Regions from separate parts of the Homo sapiens genome. Here all the other regions are linked to region 1. Evidence: promoter capture Hi-C in 16 types of primary human blood cells and fetal thymus (Javierre and others, 2016). All regions are on one chromosome and are shown on one strand. The core of a region is centred on a gene start or on the middle of the fragment in contact, and the rest is flanking DNA. Distances in the headings are between cores, read along the strand shown. Region 1 holds the start of CPNE8 (copine 8). Region 2 has its middle 270 kb from the start of ALG10B. Region 3 overlaps LOC124902917 (a long non-coding RNA gene). Region 4 has its middle 96 kb from the start of ALG10B.

Evidence for each region. Contacts are between HindIII fragments. The CHiCAGO score rates a contact against its expected background, and 5 or more counts as called.
Region 2: a contact is called between a fragment that was not itself captured here and the fragment with the promoter of CPNE8 in region 1, in 3 of 17 cell types (M2 macrophages, M0 macrophages and M1 macrophages). The highest score is 6.5, in M2 macrophages.
Region 3: a fragment that was not itself captured here is called in contact with the fragment with the promoter of CPNE8 in region 1 in 1 of 17 cell types (M2 macrophages); the score reaches 5.5 in M2 macrophages.
Region 4: a contact is called between a fragment that was not itself captured here and the fragment with the promoter of CPNE8 in region 1, in 2 of 17 cell types (monocytes and M2 macrophages). The highest score is 9.7, in monocytes.

What each region holds. Positions count from the first base shown.
Region 1 is chr12:38,902,386-38,907,897 of GRCh38, forward strand. It overlaps CPNE8 (copine 8), which reads right to left and starts at 3,206. Exons shown (of 20, transcript NM_153634.3): 1 at 3,052-3,206. The coding sequence starts at 3,149. CPNE8-AS1 (CPNE8 antisense RNA 1) reads left to right here and starts at 3,327. Exons shown (of 2, transcript XR_007063275.1): 1 at 3,327-4,612. RefSeq lists a silencer at 3,191-3,360 and an enhancer at 4,491-4,750. The HindIII fragment of the contact is 5,959 bases long and covers 1,371-5,512 here.
Region 2 is chr12:38,581,636-38,587,300 of GRCh38, forward strand. No RefSeq gene overlaps it. Among named protein-coding and RNA genes, the nearest start is that of ALG10B, 270 kb to the left of the region's middle. The HindIII fragment of the contact is 5,113 bases long and covers 289-5,401 here.
Region 3 is chr12:38,606,823-38,612,120 of GRCh38, forward strand. It overlaps LOC124902917 (a long non-coding RNA gene), which reads right to left. Exons shown (of 2, transcript XR_007063274.1): 2 at 3,614-3,728. Among named protein-coding and RNA genes, the nearest start is that of ALG10B, 290 kb to the left of the region's middle. The HindIII fragment of the contact is 7,333 bases long and covers 1-5,298 here.
Region 4 is chr12:38,409,673-38,414,990 of GRCh38, forward strand. No RefSeq gene overlaps it. Among named protein-coding and RNA genes, the nearest start is that of ALG10B, 96 kb to the left of the region's middle. The HindIII fragment of the contact is 5,009 bases long and covers 1-4,053 here.

The sequences.
Region 1 (5,512 bases), core at 1,956-4,455:
AAAGAAAGAGAAAGAAAGAAAGAAAGAAAGAAAAAGAAAGAAAGAAAGAAAGGAGAGAGAGAAAGAAAGATAAAGAATGAGAAAGAAAGAACCTATTCAAATCTGAGCTGCTTTTGAAGTGTGGGCAAATCCTCAGAAGTCTCTGGTATAGTAAGGCAAGGGAATTCCTTACTCTGCCTGCCCATAGCAAGGCTCAGAGGCCTTCAACTGTGCTTTGTTGCTAAGTGAAATCCCCACAACCTTTCTACAAAACATGTTCTTGATGCACATCAAAGAAGATAGAGAAAGCGGGAACAGGTATCCCAATGCTGGTTCTATCCTTGTGTTCTTTAACCAACTTATTGAAGTTCAAAAGAGAAGGACTTTTACAGAATTCCATACCTGAATCATATATAACACATTTATTCAACAAATGTTATTTCCAGTATTATAATAATAGCTAACATTTTTGAAAACATGTTTTTGTTTCATGCATTGTGTAAGCGCTTTCACACATCACCTTGATAACACTCTATATAAGGTAAATACCATAACTATTCTTATTTTTGGAGATGAGAATGCTTAGACAGACTGAATAAGAACTTACTCCAAGGTAGCAAGAACAAGTCACAAAGCCAGAATTTGTACTTAGGTCTCTGATGCCAAAGCCCAAACTAAACCACCTCCTATGGTTACAAGATCCAACAATACTCAAATATTTTTATCTTTGAATTTTAATGTATTAAAAATAAATTTAACCCACCTTTTCAGGAACTATTCCCAAACCTATTCCAAAGGCACTAACTTGGGTATTTAATTATGTTTCTCTTTGCCCAAAAGATGCTTTTTACCTCAAACTTATCGTAAATAGTAAGCTGAGTCAGAAGCAACTCAAACAATAGACTAAGCACTAGTGCCCCTGGCAGAGATGCTTGACACTAAGTATTCAGGTTCTCTTTCAGGATTTTTTTTTCCTGTTAGAAATCTTAAAAATTAAAAACAAAATGTCAAAGCAATGTTATGAAAAAAAGCTGGAACAAGGGATTTGCAGGTTCTGAGGCAGCAAACTGAAACAAATTGCCTTAAGCCAATTGACTTCAGTATGCCCAGCACACTCACAGAAAACATGCATCAAAAAAGGGGCTGCATTAAACATGGGCCCTACTGGCAGAATGACCAGTTTAGGTATAATTTCCCTTAAAAAGCTCATGGAAAAATTCAGACTTGATTGACAATATTCTTTTATATTCATTCCAAGTATAGGCCACATGCCATTCAGACTTTGCAGACTGTTGAGCAGAGGATAAGAACTCTAGTAATGCTGTTATTGTAGGACTTCCGGCTATCCATTATCTGTATATACCAGTAACTTCCCTCTAACATCGAAAGCAAGCTTCAGAGAAAAGAAAAAGGCCTAGGAATCCTCTAAAGAGTTTTCCAAACAGCTTCACCTGTTCCATTGACAGAAAAATCTCAGGCAGCACTTAAAGCAGTGACAGCAATGAGGCAAGAGCTTAATGATAGCTATCATTATCAGCATGATTATTTCCATAGTCCCAGATCAGTCTTAAGAGGCGGCAAACAATCAGGTGATATAGTTTCAGGGCTAGATAAAGGCTGTCCCCTACCCTCAAATAATACTTCTACTACGGTTGCTGGTGCTCGAATTTTCACCCCCAGAAAAGAATTCCTTTGGCTTTAGGCTCAGTTTGTGAAAATGCAAAGTCAAGATTGATGGAATTTTAAACTTATTTACATCAAGATCACCCAAATTTGTTAGATATCTTCAAGGCAAGTTTGCTAAGGAAAGGAAAGGGAGGATGTGAGGGCATAAAAACAATCTTAGGGCAAAAATGGATAAATGAGGAGCCAGTTTTCCAGTGAGACAGACCCAATTATGCAAACAAGGGAGTGGGCTCCAGGGTCAATATTAATTCGCAAATTAGTGGCCAGTACCAATTTAGCACCATCGCTCATCTCCTTCTCAAAATCATCTATGATATAGCGGTGATGCTGCTTTATTTACAGGGCAACTAACCGAAAGGTCAGGACAACGAGTTTGCAATTTACAGTCTCTGGACAGGGTTGAAAGTCAGTTTTTTTTTGTTTTTTTTTTTTTTTTGAGATGGAGTCTTGCGCTGTCGCCCAGGCTGGAGTGCAATGGCAAGATCTCAGCTCATTGCAACATCCACATCCCGGGTTCAAGCGATTCTCCTGTCTCAGTCTCCCGAGTAGCTGGGACTACAGGCGCGTGCCACCACGTCCGGCTAATTTTTGCATTTTTAGTAGAGACGGAGTTTCACCATATTGGCCAGGCTGGTCTCGAACTCCTGACCTCGTGATCCACCCGCCTTGGCCTCCCAAAGTGCTGGGAATACAGGCGTATAAACTGTACTGAGCCACTGCGCCCGGCCGAGAGTCAGTTTTTACAAGCACTCAGATGTGGGCCCGAAAACAAATCAAAACAAAAGTCGTGACTTCCCAGATCTTAGGTAAGGCATAGATTCGTCTGCAAGGAGGGCCGAAATCTCTACCTATCAGGCAAAAGGCAAAAAGCCCGGAAGGGTCGGGGAGAAGCAAGCTGGAAGGCTCCAGGAAGTGGGTGGGGAGGAAGCTGCCGGGGTTGGAGCCAACCCTAGCAACAGCAGGTTTGCACACGCCTAGCAGAGGAAGTCCCGGGCCTAAGCGTGCAGCGGTCACAAGAGCTTTTGGCAGTGCTGTCCCCTTCGATTCCGGTCATCACCCAACCATCCAGCCCGGGTTTGGGGCGGAAAACCGGCTTGTAAAGTGGGCGGCGGCCGGTGTTCCCACAGCTGAGTCACAGCCCAGCCAACTTTTACAGCGTTTCCCAGAAAGAAAATACAAAGTCTCAGTCCCGGAGCCCACCGCTTCTAATTCCCGCTCCCCTGTGTCACCTGACCCGGGGTAACTCCAGCCCCACTACTGAGATATTTCCCACTCATGGCGCAACTTCTTGCCTGCGCAAAGCCTCGTGGTACCCCGAGCGCTCTCCAAGTGCTACCAACCCCACAGATGAGAGGGCAGGAGAGAGGGGAAGGGCTGCGTCCTCACCTGCAGGACACGGACACCTCCACCCGCGTGGCCGGGATGGCAGCGCTCAGCTGGTTCAAGTCCCCGATGCCCGCAGTGCTGTTGTAGCGGCTGTCCATATTGGGAGGAGGCGCCTTGGACTTGTCCGGCGCCCACAACCACAGCTCGGGCGGACTGAGGGCTAGCTCCCGTCAGGCGGGGATGGGGGTTGAGGGTGGAGGCAGAAGAAGGAGGCGGAGGCAGCGCGCGGGATGGGGGAGGGAAGGGAGGAGGCGGACCTCCGCGCAGAGCCACGAGGGAACCGCTAGCCAGTCCTGGGTGAAACTGACGCTGCCAGGCAAGTGGCGCGCGGGGATCCCGGTTTCCCAGCCCCCTTCCGGCAGGCAGCAGCCCGGGCGGGGGACACACTCCGTGATCCCCTCCTGGCTGGAGGGGTCAGGCTTGGTGGACCCAGCAAGCAGCCTGATGGAGAAGGTGGCACCAGACGCAGACCCCTACCGTCCAGGACCGCAAGCCCTCGCCGGCTCTGCGTGCTTTTAGGTTTTGTCTCCACCTCTGCACACCCACACTCGCCTCCTGGGCCGCGACAGCTTCCTTCTGTCAATCAGGTGTGGACGGGAAGGTCTCGAAGTTTCCTCGCCTGAGTTGAAAGCTGGAGGTGGGGGCACCTCTGCCCGTTCCTAACTGCCCCGTTATAAGGTCCCCCTCCCCACAATTGGTTCTCACCTCGCCCTCGGAGCTCTTGGGAGATCCCTCCGTCCCTCCTACTGTGCCCTCGGGCAGATGAGTCTGGTCCCAGCTTCTGGACTGCCCACTGTCGGCCACTTGAGAGTTGGGGACGGTGGGGCATTGTGACGCTCTCCAACCTTGGAACACGGTGGCAAAGTGGCCGATCAATATATGGGACAAGTGGGGGCGGGGGGGCGGACTCTAAGGTGGAAAAAACAATACTACTTGGGATTTAAGGAAGCAATCTGGATTCTGTCTCCCCTTGGTTCTTCGGAGCTTAGAGGTCTAACGGCGACATTCCTCCTACAGTAAGGGCTCTTCTGGGTCCCTCGTTTCCAAAGGCATGAAAGTTCTGACCTGAAAATGGGGGCCGGGGAGGGTGATGTCACAACCATATAACGCAGCTCCTTCAGCCGACTCCCACCCGCAAGAACTGAGACCTGACGGATAAAAGCAGAGAGGAGTCAGAGTGAGCGCTGCGTTTGGGAAACTGCATTCCAGGGCAGCAAGACTGGTGCCAAGACGGAGTCGTGGCAAAAGCATCCGGAGGTAGACGAGGCGCCCCTCCACTGCAGGGACCTTTGTTCCCCGCGCCTTCCCTCCTGCCTCACCCGAGCGCCTGCGGGTCCCGGGAGCTCGCCACCAGGCGGCGACGGAGAACAGGATGCGGCGCAGCTGGAAGGCAGAGGGTGGAGAGGGGGCGGGTGTCCGTCCGATTTAACGCTCCAAGCACGGAGTTTCCAGCTGGTTGGGCTAAGTCTGGGAGGAGCAGTTTTTGCGGTGGAGGACTTGCCTTGCGTTGTAACATTTTAATCCACTTGCAGCCTCCTGCCTAGAGAATCTATAGAGGCGGGTGAGAGTGTGTAGGTGCAGTCTTGCCGATTCCCCTGCCGAGTGTACTTCCCCTGTTTCTTCTTGCTTTCCTTTCCTGATTTCCCCACCCACCGCTTTTTCTTCTTTTTTTTTCCTTCCTCTTGTCCTATTACAAATTAAACTGTAGTTTACTGCGATTTGGAAATGCCCTAAAACCCCAGGCATTTCTATTATGCTGCTCAAAGTTAATTTGGCATAGAGATCTAGGTTTTTTTTTAAGCTCACCAGAATTTTACTTTACAGAAGCCTACTGAAGAGATGAAACTTGAGAACTTTAGTAGTCAACATGTGGGATACTTACATCCAATTTGTTTCCACTTCAGTGAGGTATAACATATATAATGAACTGCACTTAAAGTGCATCCATCATTCGATAAATGTTGACTCATGTATCTCCCTGTGAAGCCATCACCAAAATCAAAATAATGAATCATTCCATCACCCAAAAGTTTTCTTACGTCGTAATCAGTACCTCCTTTCATCACTGAAACAACCCTCTAAGCAACCACTGATCTTTATGTCACTATAGAAGAGTTTGCATTTTTAAAAATTATGTATGTGGAATCATAAAGCAGGTAGTATTTTTGGTCTGGCTTCTTCCACTAAGCAAAGTTCTTTTGAGATTCATCTATGTTAGCATCAATAGTTCATTCTACTTTTTAAATATTTATTCATATATACAAAGAAATAAATTTTTAATTTATTTTAAATTAATAAATTTCATTTATTTAATGAAATAAATTTTTAATTTATTTCATTGTATATATGCGCTATAAATTGTCCATTCACCTGATGATGGACACTTTGGTTGTTCGAACTTTGGGCAATTACAAATGAAACTGATATGAACATATATGTACAACTCTTTCTGTGGACGTAT
Region 2 (5,665 bases), core at 1,595-4,094, 320 kb before region 1:
TTAAGTGTTTTTCTCTTTTGCCATTTATTAACTCACTATTTTATTATTTTATTGCTTTAACAATTTTTTTCTAAATTTCTTAAGTTGGATGCATAATTCATTTATTTTCTTTCTTTTTGGAATTCTTTAATGCCACATTTGATTAAATTATTTAAGCTGAAAATTTTACTCTGAACACAGTCTTAATAAGTTTCATGTATTGGATATGCAGTATTTTCACTATTATAATTTACTGGATATTTTAAATTTCAATTTAGATTTTTTAAAATAAATAATTTTATATGGGAAAGCTTTTTAAATCAGCTTTTAATGCTTTTGTTTTCTGTGTGTGTTTTTTTTAATTTTAGGTATTTTTACACAGTGAAGGGAGGGCATAATCTAATATTACTTTTTGACATTTACTGAGGATTTCTTTCTAATACATGGGCAAATGCATTTCAAAATTTCATATTGCAAAAGTTCCATAGCCACTTGAAAGGACAGTCTATTCTCTCTTTTCAGGGTTTCGTATAAATCAATTATATTTACCCTTTTATTTGTGTAATTTAAATCTCACGTGCCAGCTTTCATTTTTTTTTTTTTTGTGCCTTGACTGTGATAAACTAAAAGGAATGAACCAAAATTTTACATTATTAGTAATTTTGTGTCTATTTCTCATTGTAACTGGGAGTTTTTTTCTTTATGAATGTTGATGGCATATTGTTTATTGAAAATGTATTAATAACTTTTGTATCTTTACTTCCCACATTATAAAGCATTCTACTTTGTCTCTTGTAATGCATTTTGCTCTGAATTAGATTTTGCCTCATGTGAATATGATTTCTGCCTTGTTTGTTTTTATTTTCTAGTGCACATTTGTCAATTCTTTTTTAATTCTAATTTTAAATTTCTGGGTACATGTGCAGGATGTGCAGGTTTGCTACATAGGTAAGTATGTGCCATGGTGGTTTGCTGCACTTATCAACCAATCACCTACGTATTAAACCCAGCATACATTAGCTATTATTCTTAATGCACTCCCTCCCCTCACCATACCCCCGAGAGGCCCCAGTGTGTGTTGTTCCTCTCCCTGTATCCACGTGTTTTCATTGTTCAGCTCCCACTTATAAGTGAGAACATGCAATGTTTGGTTTTCTGTTCCTGTGTTAGTTTGCTAAGGATAATGGTTTCCAGCTCCAGCCACATCCCTGCAAAGGACATGATCTCATTCTTTTCTATGGCTGCATAGTATTCCATGGTACTACATTTTCTTTACCTAGTCTATCATTAATGGGCATTTGGATTGATTTCATGTCTTTGCTATTGCTGCAAAGAATAGTGCTGCAAATGAACATATGTGTGCATGTATCTTTGTAATTCTATTTATATGCCTTTGGGTATATACCCAGTAAAGAGATTGCGGGGTCAAATGGTATTTCTGGTTCTAGATCTTTGAGGAATTACCACACCATCTTACACAATGGTTGAACTAATTTACATTCCCACCAACAGTGTAAAAGCATTCCTATTTCTGTGCAACCTCATCAGCATCTGTTGTTTCTTGACTTTAATAATCGCCATTCTGACTGTTGTGAGATGGTATCTTATTGTGGTTTTGATTTGCATTTCTCTAATGATCAGTGATGTTGAGCTTTTTTAAATGTTTCTTGGCCACATGAATATCTTCTTTTGAGTAGTGTCTGTTCATGTCCTTTGTCCACTTTTTAATGGGGTTGATTGTGGGTCTTTTTGTAAATTTGTTGAAGTTCCTTGTAGATTCTGGACATTAAACCTTTGTGGGATGGATAGATTGCAAACATTTTCTCCTATTCTGTAGGGTGCCTGTTCGCTCTGATGATAGTTTCTTTTGTTGTGTCAATTCTTTTTAACATCAATCTTTTTGAGACACTTTGCTTTAGACTGTCTTTCTGTTCATTCTAGTTGGGTTTCACTTTGTGATCCATTGAGTTTTTTTCTTTTAATAGGTAAGCATAGCCCATTTAGGTTAAATAATATCACAAGAATGTTTGATCTTAATTCTGTTGTACTTTTGAAATTTAGATGATATTCACATAACATTAAATTAACCATTTTAAAGTGAACAATATAGCGACATTTAGTAAATTCACAGTGTTGTACAATTCTATTGTACTTTGAAATATCTTTTGCAGCTTATTTGAGAATATGTTGTATAGATTTAATAAAATCCTTTACTGTGTTCCCCTTGCTCGTATATTTCTATCTTAAGAAGGTTTTTGTTTTTGTTATAATTTTACTTGATAACTAAAAGTTCTGATAATGCATGTAATCCTGCTTCCTACAAGTAGCAATATTATGTCCCACTACCCTAAAATACACGTGTTTATGTCTTACTTGTAGACAATGTTAACCAATTGTTTCTTGGTTAGGTGAAGTTGATCTTAAGAAAGTCTTATAGGAACATTTTACTACCTGGTTCTTATATGATCATGATTGATCTGTAACATTTTATCCTTGAAATACAGTTACATTTGGTATGAAATCTTTGGCTCCTTTTTTCCTGGAAGATTTCAGAGGTATTACTCTACCTTCCTTCATGTCTAAGGAAGACTAGGGCTAGCTTGGCTTTTTCACACTTCATAAGTGACTTTATCTATCTACCTGTTGCCTAAAGAATACCATCATTGGCCGGGCGCGGTGGCTCACGCCTGTAGTCCCAGCACTTTGGGAGGCCGAGGCGGGCGGATCACGAGGTCAGGAGATCGAGACCATCCCGGCTAAAACGGTGAAACCCCGTCTCTACTAAAAATACAAAAAATTAGCCGGGCGTCGTGGCGGGTGCCTGTAGTCCCAGCTACTCGGGAGGCTGAGGCAGGAGAATGGCGTGAACCCGGGAGGCGGAGCTTGCAGTGAGCCGAGATCATGCCACTGCGCTCCAGCCTGGGCGACAGAGCAAGACTCCGTCTCAAAAAAAAAAAAAAAAAAAAAAAAAGAATACCATCATTATCTTGGAAGTGCAGTATATTTACCAGGATGTGCCTTTGTTAATTTTTAGGTAAATTTTCATGGGAAACAGTATATCCATTCAAATCCTCTTTTATTTTAAAAAGTATATCTTTAAATATTTGTTCTGTTCAATCATTTCAGTTAACTTCATAGAAGAATAATTATGAATATTATAATATATTTTGTTGATCTCCATAGCTATTATTTTCTCTAATCCTTTAAAACTCCTTTATTATTTTCATTTTAGTTTGTCATCAATGTCTTTAATTGTTTTCTACAGTGTTTATTCTCACTGTGATCCTCAAAATTTGTCCTGCTTTTTGTGATGGCTTTATATTTTTTCCTTTTACTTCTTTCCTGAATTATGCCAATTTCTTTTTATTTCCTGCTGCTATCATATCATTTTTCTCCTTGAGTACTTACATTTTTGTTTTATACACTTGTTTTATAGAATGTTTAGTTTATTTCTGTATTTTAATAATAAGCAAAGTCTTGGCAAATGAAAATTTTTACTTGTTCCATGAGAACACTTCTCTGTTGTTTGTTTCCAGCTGAATGTAACAGTAAAACCCCAAAGGACTGTAGCACAAATAAAATTTATCCCCAATTCATGTACAAACAAACAAAAGGAGATTGGTATCCGGTAGCCTGGAGCTGGTGAGTGCCCACAAAATTACCTACGATCATTCTGACTCATTGTATCTCATTCTGGCTAGAAATTCAACTGTGGAGGATGAGGGGGAGAAGAAAGTATCACTTTCTTTTCAAGTAATTCTTCAAAATTCCACCTAACACTTCTGCTTATATATCTCTTTGACCCAAACTTAGTCAAGGAGCCATGTGTATCTTTAAAAGAAACTGGGAGACATAGTTTCTCAGCTGGATGGGCCATGACAACTATAAATTAGGATTCTTTTGCTCACAAAACGGATGAAATTAGGTTTAGGGGACCGCGACAGAAGTTGAAAAGCAACAGCTGCCACAACATCCTTCATCTTCGTTTTCTTTTTCTGTTTCTCCCACTACCCTGCCTTTTAAACTTATTCTTTATTTCAATAAGTTTTTTCCTTATTGTAGTTTTCTTGTTGTTGTGTATTTTTCTGGATTTGCTATTTCAGAATTTTCATGTGAGACACGGGATACATCCCATTACCATGATCTACCTGAGGATTGTTTAGCTGTGACTTCTCTACAACCAACAAGAATAAGTAGCCATGGATTTTTCTTTTTCCTGATAGAAAGACTACACTCTGTCATGCTGCTCTTCATATTGCACAGTGTGGACTTCGGTTTTACACTTCAGGGTAGGCCTCTCAGTTTAAATAGTGGTATTCTTACTGGTTCTTCCTGAAATCTACAGTCAAAGCCAACTTTTCCAGTGGGATCCTTGTTTCCTCCACTTTCTTTCAGGGGTCCACCTGTTCTATTTCTATTCTTTTGAGCATCATTCCAGCTATTTGAGAATCTGGAGTTTTCGTTGACTTCTAGTTTTCCCCAAAAATAGATTCTATTTATTTATTCAGATTTTATAATTTTGTTTCACTTCTCCTTGTTGGTTGTGAATAATTTCCAGAAAGAGAATGATATTTAGTAACTATATTCAAATGAAGGCCCAAACCATTACTTTTTACAATCTATCCTATAATTGTTTTGTTACAGTGATATCAAGCATTTTCTTGACTTTGACAATGACTTTGCCTATATATTTACAGTTTGCTGGAACCCTTTTAATTCTTCATCATTTCCCAACTTGCTGTTGTGACACTGTTTTAACAATCAGTGAAGTTTTGCAAATTGGCTCAACGACCCCTGTGTTATTATCCATTGGAACCAAATATTTAAATTCATTAAAAGCAGGTTTCCTCTCAATTTTTTGACTAACTTGGATTTCAATTTCTGTTTTAAAATATTTGTTCTATTCTTTAAATTCTATTCTGATGTTTCTACTCTATTCTAATATCTTTGCCAGAAAAAAAGGGCAGAAGCAAAGAAGAGAGAGGTACTCATTTCTTTCTATCATCTATCAACACTGTTATTTCCCCATGCAGCACACTACTCCTGTCTGTGAAGAAGAAAAGAAGTACTGATTATAAAACAGAGACCTAGCTTTTTTTTTTTTTTTTTTTGACATTCTCCCATTGTTTTCTAGGCACTCATAAAATATACAGCTTGGAATCTGCTATCTTCCCTAAGTGCTTATTCATTTTTAATAAATGCAATAATGAGTATGGTGATTTAATATTTTGTACAGATGAATGAATTTCTCCCTTTATCTCAACATTCTTACCCTAGACCTTTAATTGCACAATCTTTATTATTCATTCTCTTTACCATACCTCCCACTGTCATCCAGCCTCTAACACACTGGGATTCTTTCTGGACATCAATGCTTTAAGACTCTATCTGAAACTATAATTCCTGGTAGTAACCACATTTAAGCTTCTGTCTGCTATCTAAATTGGAGCTCCAGACTACTCATGTCTGAATCATTTATTTGTATCCTCATAAGGCTATTATGTTGCTTAACTCATGTTGCTAAACATCATCATCTTGGCTATCTTTTGCTTTACCTCAGAACTTCCTAGTTTTATTCTCTTCTGTCCATATTAAATTTTTAAATTGCAAAAACAACCATTTCTTCTAACACATGTTTAGATGGAAGTAAACATGTGAAACAGCTTTATGTTATTTTAAGTATATA
Region 3 (5,298 bases), core at 700-3,199, 300 kb before region 1:
AAAAGAAAAAAAAAAGAAAGAAAATAAAAGAAATAATAAACAAATACAGAAAATTAACAGAATACAAAATCCACATGCAAAAATAAGCTGATTGTCTATGCACTAATAATAGTTGGAGGCTTTAATACCCTGCTCTCAATAATAGATAGATCAACCAGACAGAAGATAAGTTAAAAAAAATAGAGAACACAATAAAATGAGTATCTCTAACAGACATATACAGAACTAATAAGCAATCCAAAAACGAAATTAAGAAAACAATTCCATCTACAAAAGCATTAAAATAATAAAATACTTAGGAGTTAACCCAACACAAAAGGTAAAAGACTTGTACACTAGTCCTGATTTTTCTGAGAGGCACACATTTCAAGATGCCCAGTGAATCCCTGAAAGTACAGATAGCAATAAAACCTACACACACACACACACACACACACACACACAATGATTTTTTTCTGTATGTACATACCCACGATATAAATTAAACACAGTAAGAGATTAACAACAATAACAAATAATAAAACATAACAATTATAACAATATGCCAGCATCACTGCTCTTGCACCTTGGGACCAGTATTAAGTAAAATAAGGATTACTTTGGCACAATCATTGCAATAATGCAGCAATCAGTCTGATAACTGAGTAAGCTACTAAGTGACTCATGGGCAGGTAGTATATACAGTGTGGATGCACTAGACAAGGGGATAATTCATATCACAGGCAGGACAGAGAAGGATGGCACAAGATTTCATCATGCTACTCAGAATGGCCTATAATTTAAAACTTATGAATTGTTTATTTCTGAAATTTTCCATTTAATATTTTTGAACCTTGATGACCTTGGGTAACTGAAATGGCAGAATGCTAAACCACTGATAATGTGGGAACTACGGTATACTGAAAACTACAAAACACTGCTGAAAGGAATGAAAAATGATAAATAAATTAATAAATGGAATAAGATCCCATGTTTATGTATTGGAAGACAATATTCTTAAGATGTCAATACTATCCAAAGCAATCTACAAACTCAATGCAATCAATATCAAAATACCAATTCTTCTGTGCATGTGGTGGAGAGGGACAGCAAGTGCAGTGTCCAGAGGCCCCTTTTCTGATTTCCCAGTCCACAGCAGCAGTGACACTGGGAATGCTCCAGCCTTCTAGAGACCAGATCCTTCTGGCAGCAATCATAAATAGATCCAGGGTTTACAGAAAAATATATTCCTGGGTTCTCTATTCTGTTCCATTGGTCTATGTGTCTGTTTTTGTACCAGTACTATGCTGTTTTTGTTACTGTATCCCTGTAGTATAGTTTGAAATCAGGTAGCATAATTCCTTCAGCTTTGTTCTTTTTGCTTAGGATTGCCTTGGCTATTTGGGCTCCTTTTTGGTTCCATAAGAATTTTAAAACAGTTTCTTTTTCTAGTTCTGTGAATCATGTCAATTATAGTTTAATAGAAATAGCATTGATTCTATAAATTGCTTCAGGCAGTATTGGCATTTTAATAATATTTATTCTCTCTATCTATGAGCATGGAATGTTTTTTCCATGTTTGTGTCATATCTGGTTTCTTTGAGCAGTGTTTTGTAGTTCTCTTTGTAGAGAGCTTTCAGCTCCTTGTTTAGACGAGAATGAGGCTGCACACCTACAACTATCTGATCTTTGACAAATCTGACAAAAACAAGCAATGTGGAAATGATTCCCTATTCAATAAATGGTGCTGAGATACTGGTTAGCCATATGTAAAAGACTGAAACTGGGCCCCAGCCTTATCCCATATACAAAAATTAACTCAAGATGGATTAAATACTTAAATGTAAAACCCAAAACTATAAAATCCCTGGAACACAACCTAGGCAATACTATTCTGGACATAGGAATGGACACATATTTCATAATGAAGACACCAAAAGCAATTGCAATGAAAGCAAAAATTGACAAATGGGATCTAATTAAACTAAAGAGCTTCTGCACAGCAAAGGAAACTATCAACAGAGTGAACAGACTACCTACAGAGTGGGAGAAAAGTTTTACAAACTATGCTTCTGACAAAAGTCTAATATCCAGCATCTATAAAGAACTTAAACAAATGTACAAGAAAGAATAATTAAAAAGTGGACAAATGACACGAATAGACACTTTTCCAAAGAAGACATGCATGCAGCCAACAATCATGTGACAAATAGCTCAACATCATTGATAATTAGAGAAATGCAAATCAAAACCTCAATGAGATACCAACTCACACCCGTCAAAATGGCTATTATTAAAAAGTCAAAAAATAACAGATGCTGGCAAGGTTGTGGAGAAAAAGGAATGCTTATATGCTGTTGGTGGAAGTGTGAATTAGTTCAACCATTGTGGAAGAAAGTGTGGCGATTCCTCAAAGATCTAAAGACAGAAATACCATTCAACCCAGCAATCCCATTACTGGTTATATACCTGAAAAATATAAATTGTTCTAATATAAATGCACAGGCATGTGTATGTTCATTGCGGCATTATTCACAATAGCAAAGACATGGAATCAACCTAAATGCCCATCAATGATAGATTGGATAAAGAAAATGTAGTACATGTACACCATGGAATACTATGTAGCCATAAAAAAGAACAAGATTATGTCTTTCACAGGAACACGCATGAAGCTGGAGGCAATTATCCTTAGCAAGCAAACACAGGAACAGAAAAACAAATACCACATGTTCTCACTTATAAGTGGGAGCTAAATGATGAGAACTTATGGCCACTCAAAGGGGAACAACACACACTGGGGCTCACCAGACCGTGGAGGGTTGAGAGTGGGAGGAGGGAGAGAATCAAAAAAAATAAGTAATGACTACTAGGCTTAATACCTGATAACAAAGTAATCTGTACAACAAACCCCCATGACACAAGTTTACCTATATAACAAATCTGCACATATACCCCTGAACTTAAAATAAAAGTTAAATTTAAAAAGAAAAATACAGGGCCGGGCACGGTGGCTCACGCCTGTAATCCCAGCACTTTGGGAGGCTGAAGCCGGTGGATCACAAGGTCAGGAAATCAAGACCAGCCTGTCCAAGATGGTGAAACCCCGTCTCTACTAAAAATACAAAAATTAGCCAGGCGTGGTGGTGCATGCCTGTAATCCCAGCTACTTGGGAGGCTGAGGCAGGAGAACTGCTAGAACCCAGGAGGCGGAGGTTGCAGTGAGCCAAGATCATGCCACTACACCCCAGCCTGGGCAACAAGAATGAAATTCCATTTAAAAAAATAAAAGAAAAGAAAAAGAAAAAAAAATACAGTCCTAATGAATGGGAAAATGAGGAGTCATAGTAAAGAAATAAAAAGTATAAAAGAGAGCCAGATAAAAATTTTAAATCTAAAAATATAATAAGTGAATCAAAATTAATTGAACAGCTTAACAACAAATTGGAGAAAGTAAAAGAATCAGTGAAGTTCAATGATACAGAATTGAAAACATTAAATCTGGAGAACTGCAAGAATAAAGATTGAAGAAAAATTAAGTGAATATCAGTGACCTATGTGATAGTATAAGACAGTTTAAGACATATGTAATTGGAGCTACAGCTGTAAAGGAGAAACAGAAACTAGCAGAAAATTTACTTGTAAAATTTTATTTTTCTCTTTGATATTCTTCAGTTTTCGTGAGATGCGTACGTATCAATGACTCTGTTTTCACTCATCAGGCATTTTGAACATCTTCAATCTGAAAACTAATAATGTTACTATTAGAAAATTATCAACTATTATCTTCCCTTGTCTATGATCTTTCCAACCTTTTTTCTTGCTAATTCTGGAATTCCTATTACTATATGTTAGACCTTCATTTACTCTCTTTCATGTCTGTATTTTCATCTCTTTATCTCACTATATACATCACTAAATTGATTTTTCTATATACTATCCCTCTTTAGTTGAATTTACTGTTCTGTATAATCTGTCCTTTGTATTCATAATTTTATTAATTATATTTTTCTTAGAGATTTGATTTGTCTCTGTTTCACATTTAGTCTTTTACAATTCCCATACCTCCCTCAATATGGATTTTATCCTTCTTGTATCTCTTTAAACATTAAGCAATTAACATTGTTAAACAATGTTAACAAACGTTAAATTTCCCATTGTTAAACAATGTTAAACATTGACATTCCATAGTCATGTTTGTATTGTTCTTTTATTGCTAGCTATTCATATATTATTGTTCACATTTGTTGACTAGGGTAATTAATTTTCATGTGGAGTTTAAATTTTTTTATGTCTCATCTTCAGTGAGGGCAGATTTATTTGTGGGAGTCTTACTGTGGGCCAATGTTAAATTATTAACTTTTGGTTTCCTACCACATGGGTGGTAAACATTCAAACCTCACAGCCTGTGATTTGGGATTAGAGTTTCCATTTCTTCAAGGTTATGTTTTTTTCCTTTTATGGTTCTGAGCAATTGACATGATTCCTGATGTTCCCCGGACCTGTGGATTTTCTAGTCCAATTTTCATAGACATTATAGCCAACAGTGACATCTATTTTCTTTTCTTTGAAGAGGGTTCCATTCCAGCTGTGCCAAAAGCACAGCTTTTGTTCCAATATGAGTAACAATATCCTGATCTCTCAACTTTATCTCAGCTCTCATACCTCCAAGCGACTTCAGTAACAGCTAAAAGTTCTGTTTTATGTTTCACTGTCATTTGCAGCAATGAACAAATATCTCCTCCCTTTTGTTGTCTTTTGGTGAGTTTGGCTGTACATTTTTCTAACGTGTTGTTCCCAAGAATTCAGTCATTTTTCTCTAGAAGTGCAGTGTTTTCAGGAGGAGTTTTTGTGGCAGTACAGAGAAGAATCACGTTTACTGAGTTTGCCATATTTAACCTCCTTTTCACATTAGGATAGAGATATTCCTATGTCATTGATTTTTCATTGCTTCATTTTTATTGACTGAAGACTAACTATATTTGTATGTCCTAAATGTCTTAAATTAACCAACTAAATCTCTATTTTGGGACCTTTTGGTCGTTTCCATTTTTCCTCTCTCATAGACCTTTTCTCATAATGAATATTGCATTATTTAGTTACTTTTTTAAAGTATCCAGTAGAAAACAGTCAAGAGATATGCACACACACATACAATATTAAAATATTAAAAGCAATGGTAAAAATTGTAATTACTTTTGTACCAACACAATAATAACAAAGCCAAATAGAGCAGAAGGTTCTAGGTAGTAACAATAGTCAAGGAAAGAGTTAATAAATGGGAAAGTACCAAAATTTCCATTCCCTATAGCAATGCTT
Region 4 (5,318 bases), core at 299-2,798, 490 kb before region 1:
CACTGTTCACAAGACTATAACTGTCAGTTCTGATTAAAGAATTTTGTCTACAATGACGGTGGGCAGGAGTAGGAACAGGATGTGCTGTCAGGGAGGGTTTACCAGGCTCAAGTGATCTCTGTTCTTTTCATAGTCTGAATATTAGTATATAAAGAGTATATTCTATATTCCTCTAGGGAGAACATGGATAAATAAAATTGAAAATGTAGTTTGAAAAGACTGTAGAAATGGCTTAATTATTAAAGTTGTGGATCTTGTGGATTGATGAAAATGAATTCCTCCTAACAACTCCTAGTCTCTTAATATCTTTACACAAATGAGGCAATAAATTTCAAAGATTTTGGAAGCCAGTTCATTATTACTACCTCAAGTGAGTCTTACTGGAGTTAGATGTTGCCTTACACCTCCCAAATAAGAAATCTTTTAGCAGAATTTATGCAATCATGGGTTACAAAACTGGCATACTTAGACACTGAAATCATAAACTTTATTATTATTAACCATGTTCATATAATGGAACTAACTTTTAAACTAACATGCATCCATTTCACTAGTATTATGCTGTGTGCGATATGATCTGAATGTTTGTATACCCCCAAAATTCATGTATTGAAACTAACGTCAAAGGTGATAGTGTTAGGAGGTGGGGCCTTTGCAAGGGGATTAGGTCAAGAGGGCTTTTTCCTTATGAATGGCATGAGTGCCCTCATGAAAGAGAACTGAGGGAAGTTGTTTGCCTCTTCTGTCAAGTGAGGACAGATGAAGAATGCCTATTTAGACGCCAGAAAGCATAACCTTACCAGACGCTGAGTCTGCTGGTGCCTTGAGTTTTAGACTTCCTAGTCTCCCAAACTGTGAAAATTAAATTTCTGTTCATTTTAATCCACCTAGATTATGGGTTTTTCATTATAGTATCCCAAACTGACTGAGGCAGCATGATGTACCTATTGCTTTTATTATTATAAAGACTCTATAGAAAAGTTTGATATCCACATGTGTCCAGTGGTTACTGTATGGGACAGCATAGTTCTAGAGGGAGTAAGCATATGACAAGCAGTTTAACAGCTAAACATATAATATATTCGGTGGTAAAAAAGAGTCCTTTGAACAAAGCAAGATAGGTAAAGGGACCAATAATTATGAGTGGAGGAGTGTGCTATTTTAAATAGTTAAGGTGGACAGACTAGTGTTCTCTGATAAGGTGACATTTAAGCAGAAACCTGAAATAATGAAAATAATATGCCTAACACAATACACAGCATGTAGTAAGTACCAAATACATTTTAGTGCTCATTACTAGCTAAGAAGAATTGTGTTATTCACTCCATACTTGAACTATATTATAATGGACTTCTTATTTTAGAAGAAAATTTTCCTTTATTTTTAAACAAACCAAAAATACTGTTACTTAAAAATATTAAATTCTGGTTGGGCATGGTGGCTAACGCCTGTAATCCCAGCACTTTGGGAGGCTGAGGCAGGCGGATCATGAGGTCAAGAGATCAAGACCATCCTGGCCAACATGGTGAAAACCCATCTCTACTAAAAATACAAAAACTAGCTGGGCGTGGTGGCGCACGCCTGTAGTTCCAGCTACTCTGAAAGCTGAGGCAGGAGAATCACTTGAACCCGGGAGGCTGAGGTTGCAGTGAGCCGAGATCACACCACTGCACTCCTGCCTGGTGACAGAGTGAGACTCCGTCTCGAAAAAAAAAAATTAATTAATTAATTAAATTCTAGTCATGATTTCATAAAAAGAAATATTCTCCTTGCAGTATCAACAGAGAGAAAATAGCTAACTAAGTACTATAACAATAACTCAGTAGAGAACAAAGAACAGTTTATTGGTCTCCCAATTTCTTTTTAAATGAAAAACAGTGAAGTTCAATCTTAAACAAAGTTTTCCTGCCAGCAAAGTTGTCAGATGTATGAAAGGGGAAGTTGTTGCTCAGCAACACAATGAGACTGAGCTCCCATGATAAGTTCTTACATAACCTCCAAACGGTACATTGGATAACAATGCTATTGGGGCAAGTGGAAAACTTGCTTTCATAGACAGCAAGCATTTTTGAAATCATTCTTAATTAAAAGTTGAACACTAATTTTCTTACGGTGAAACTTTTATAGTTACACCATGTCCTTATTTATGTTTTACGACTTAAAGTGCAATTTACCTCATGCTAAGAACATTCATTGTGACAGTTCTGTTGGAAATTTTGCATTCTATTTCAAATGAAGCCTTCCCTTTATGATTCTGTCTTTAACTTGGGTGACTCAAAGATCTTTTCCCACCTTTGATTTAAGTCTTTGACTAGCTACAGCTATATTAGGTTGAACCTCACCCAATGATCAATTTTTGTTACCTTTGAAACATTCTAGAATGGTTTAGATGCAGTGTTTGATTAGACTTGAAAATGAAATTTTTTTTAAAGGTAAACAAGCCCTTCTCTGAAGGCATTGAGGGAAAACCTGCAAGGTCATCATATTTTACAATGTATCTACCTAACTAAATCCTATTCAGATTTTAATCCCTAATTCAAATCCTAACTCCTCCATATGGTCTTTCCAAGGACCCTAGATGATAAGGCTTTAATCATGTGTTGCTTTTATGCCTCTATTCTCCTCTTTATTTTAGTCACATTTCTTTTGGAATGCAGCAAATACATTTTATCATACCTTTACTTTCCCTTGGGAACTTACTGACATGCTGTGCCCAAAGTATGTAATGAAATAACAAGAATAATACATAGTAACTTTATATGGGACCTTATACTTTTTATAACATTTTACCTATGTTATCTACATGAAAACTAGGGTTTACATATGTTGACTGGGTACCTTTCAGTTAGAAGTGAAAGGGCTTTGTTGACTATAAATATCTAATTTGATCCTCATGGATGAGAAAATTTTATTTTAAACAGAGTGTAGATGAAGAATCTGAGCTTCACATTAAGCTATTTGAAAGAAACTTATAAGTAGTCAGGGGTCAGCAATCTGATTCTTTTTCTCTTTATTGTAATCTAAAATGTCTTAATGAATGCTTGGAAAAATGAAGAAATAAGTGATAGACTTAAGGAAGGAATAAATGATTGAATACTTTTTTTTAATTTTATCACCATCTTTCATTCATCACCCAACATTGTCTATCTGTTGATAAATATCAGATACAATGTTCTTCATTCTTTTTCTTGATATTTTGCTAGCTCAATCCTAATTAGTTTTCAGCCATTTGATATCTACCACCTAGTATTTCACTTTCTTAGTGTCTAACTTATCCTCCTTTCAATCCATCCTATTCTTAAAGTGAGAATCATTTCCCGCAAATTCCATTTTGATCACTCATATCTATATACTAAAACTAAGAAAGGATTTCCTTTGCCCAATATATCTGAGACAGATAATCAAGCCCCTTATTTAAATTTCTTTATTTTATTTTATTTTCTTGAGCCATCATATCACCTACTATAGCATTCAAAAAAGCAAATCTACTCTGCCTCTCTCTTACTCGTTTTTCTTGCTTCTTTGTCTTTTTGTCGCTCATTATCTATCAATTCATACTCTACTCTTTTTTCAGTTACTACCTGATTCAAACTTTACCTCCTTAGGAAATAATTCTAATCATGGCTTTGGGAAACTCCTCCGCAACCCCCACCCCCACATGCAAACTTGTTTGCATAGCATTTGAAGTGTTAATATATGTCCTTGAATAAATAATCTGGTTGTTATAGTCTGTCCTCTTTCTTTTCTAGATTGCTATGTGATGACAACCGTATGTTTCTTAGCTGCCTCTATAATGTTACCACCAAAAAATATTGTTAAAAAGTGTTTTCTCACCTTGAATGCGCAGCTCTTCACAGAGCTGTTTTGGTATTCAAACAATTGCCTAAGATTTCTTTCAAGGCATATCAAAGGTGAAAATTAATGTTCTCTATTTCAAAGATTTTGCCAAGTTACCAAGAATAGCATAAGTCAGTAAGACATACCAGGGGAATACAAATATTTCTGTATGTTGTTAATATGTCTAATAAAATGAGAATCTTTTGTACTGCCTCAAGCTTTTTCTCTCTTTCTGTAGAAATAACATAGAGATGTATGTAACCTCAGAATAAAATCTTATGCATGTCATGAAGAAAGCAAAGCTTATATGTAATAATTAATAGGGGCCAGTCTTCTCCTTCAATTATAGCTACAAAATATCTAATGGTTAACTACAAAAAAAGGTATCTATAAGCAAATCAGCAGAAAAACCATACATGCTCCAGAATTGACACAAGTTATTAGGAAAAGAAAAACAAGATTTAATGGTCTTTGCTGGAAGAGATATCAGAAACAAGAAGAGCAAAAATTAGATGGGTTTAGGAGTGAGTATAAAAACAATGTTTTTTTTTTTTTCTTTTTTGGAAACAGAGTTTCACTCTTTTTGCCCAGGCTGGAGTGCAATGGCACGATTTCGGCTCACTGCAACCTCTGCCTCCCAGGTTCAAGCAATTCTCCTGCCTCAGCCTCCCGAGTAGCTGGGGTTACAGGCATGTGCCACCACACCCGGCTAATTTTGTATTTTCAGTAGAGACGGGGTTTCTCCATGTTGGTCAGGCTGGTCTAGAACTACCGAACTCAGGTGATCCACCCACCTCGGCCTCCCAAAGTGCTGGGATTACAGGCGTGAGCCACCGTGCCCGGCCAATAACAATGTTTAATTAAAACCTAGGAACACATGTAAAATTGCTGAAATTAAGGCAGAGAAGCATTTAGCAAGAGGCTTTCATCAATTAGAATAGATCAGAAAACAGCTCTCATATGTATATGGGTTTGTATGTTTGATAGATAATGTTCCCTAATGAATACACAAATAAGCAACTTCTCCCTCTGTCCTCTCAGAGGGAAGAAGAGGACCAAGGTACTTCTTAACTAAGCCACCCTTTTCATCTGGAAGCTTTAACCTACTCTTTTTTTTCCCCCTCGAATTTCTAAATTTTATAGAAACTTTCTCTGATAATTTTTGTTCTCCAACATTAGCATATACAATTAAGTCTTCTGACTACTGTGGCCCCTTCTCTGTCCTTGTTTTACCCATTACACTGTCTGAACAATACAGCCTGCCACATGAGTGGAAGTTTAATTTCCTATATATCCATATTTCAACATATTCCCTTCTCTTTCCATCCATCTCTCCCTCCTCCCCATCTCAGGTGAAGGATATTCTAGTTTTTAAAGATCATCATTTTCACTCAGCAATAAATCCCATCCACTTCCACCAACTTAAATTTCCTCTTTAATCATCTTTTTTCTGTCTCTACCTATTTTGTTTTTCCTACTGA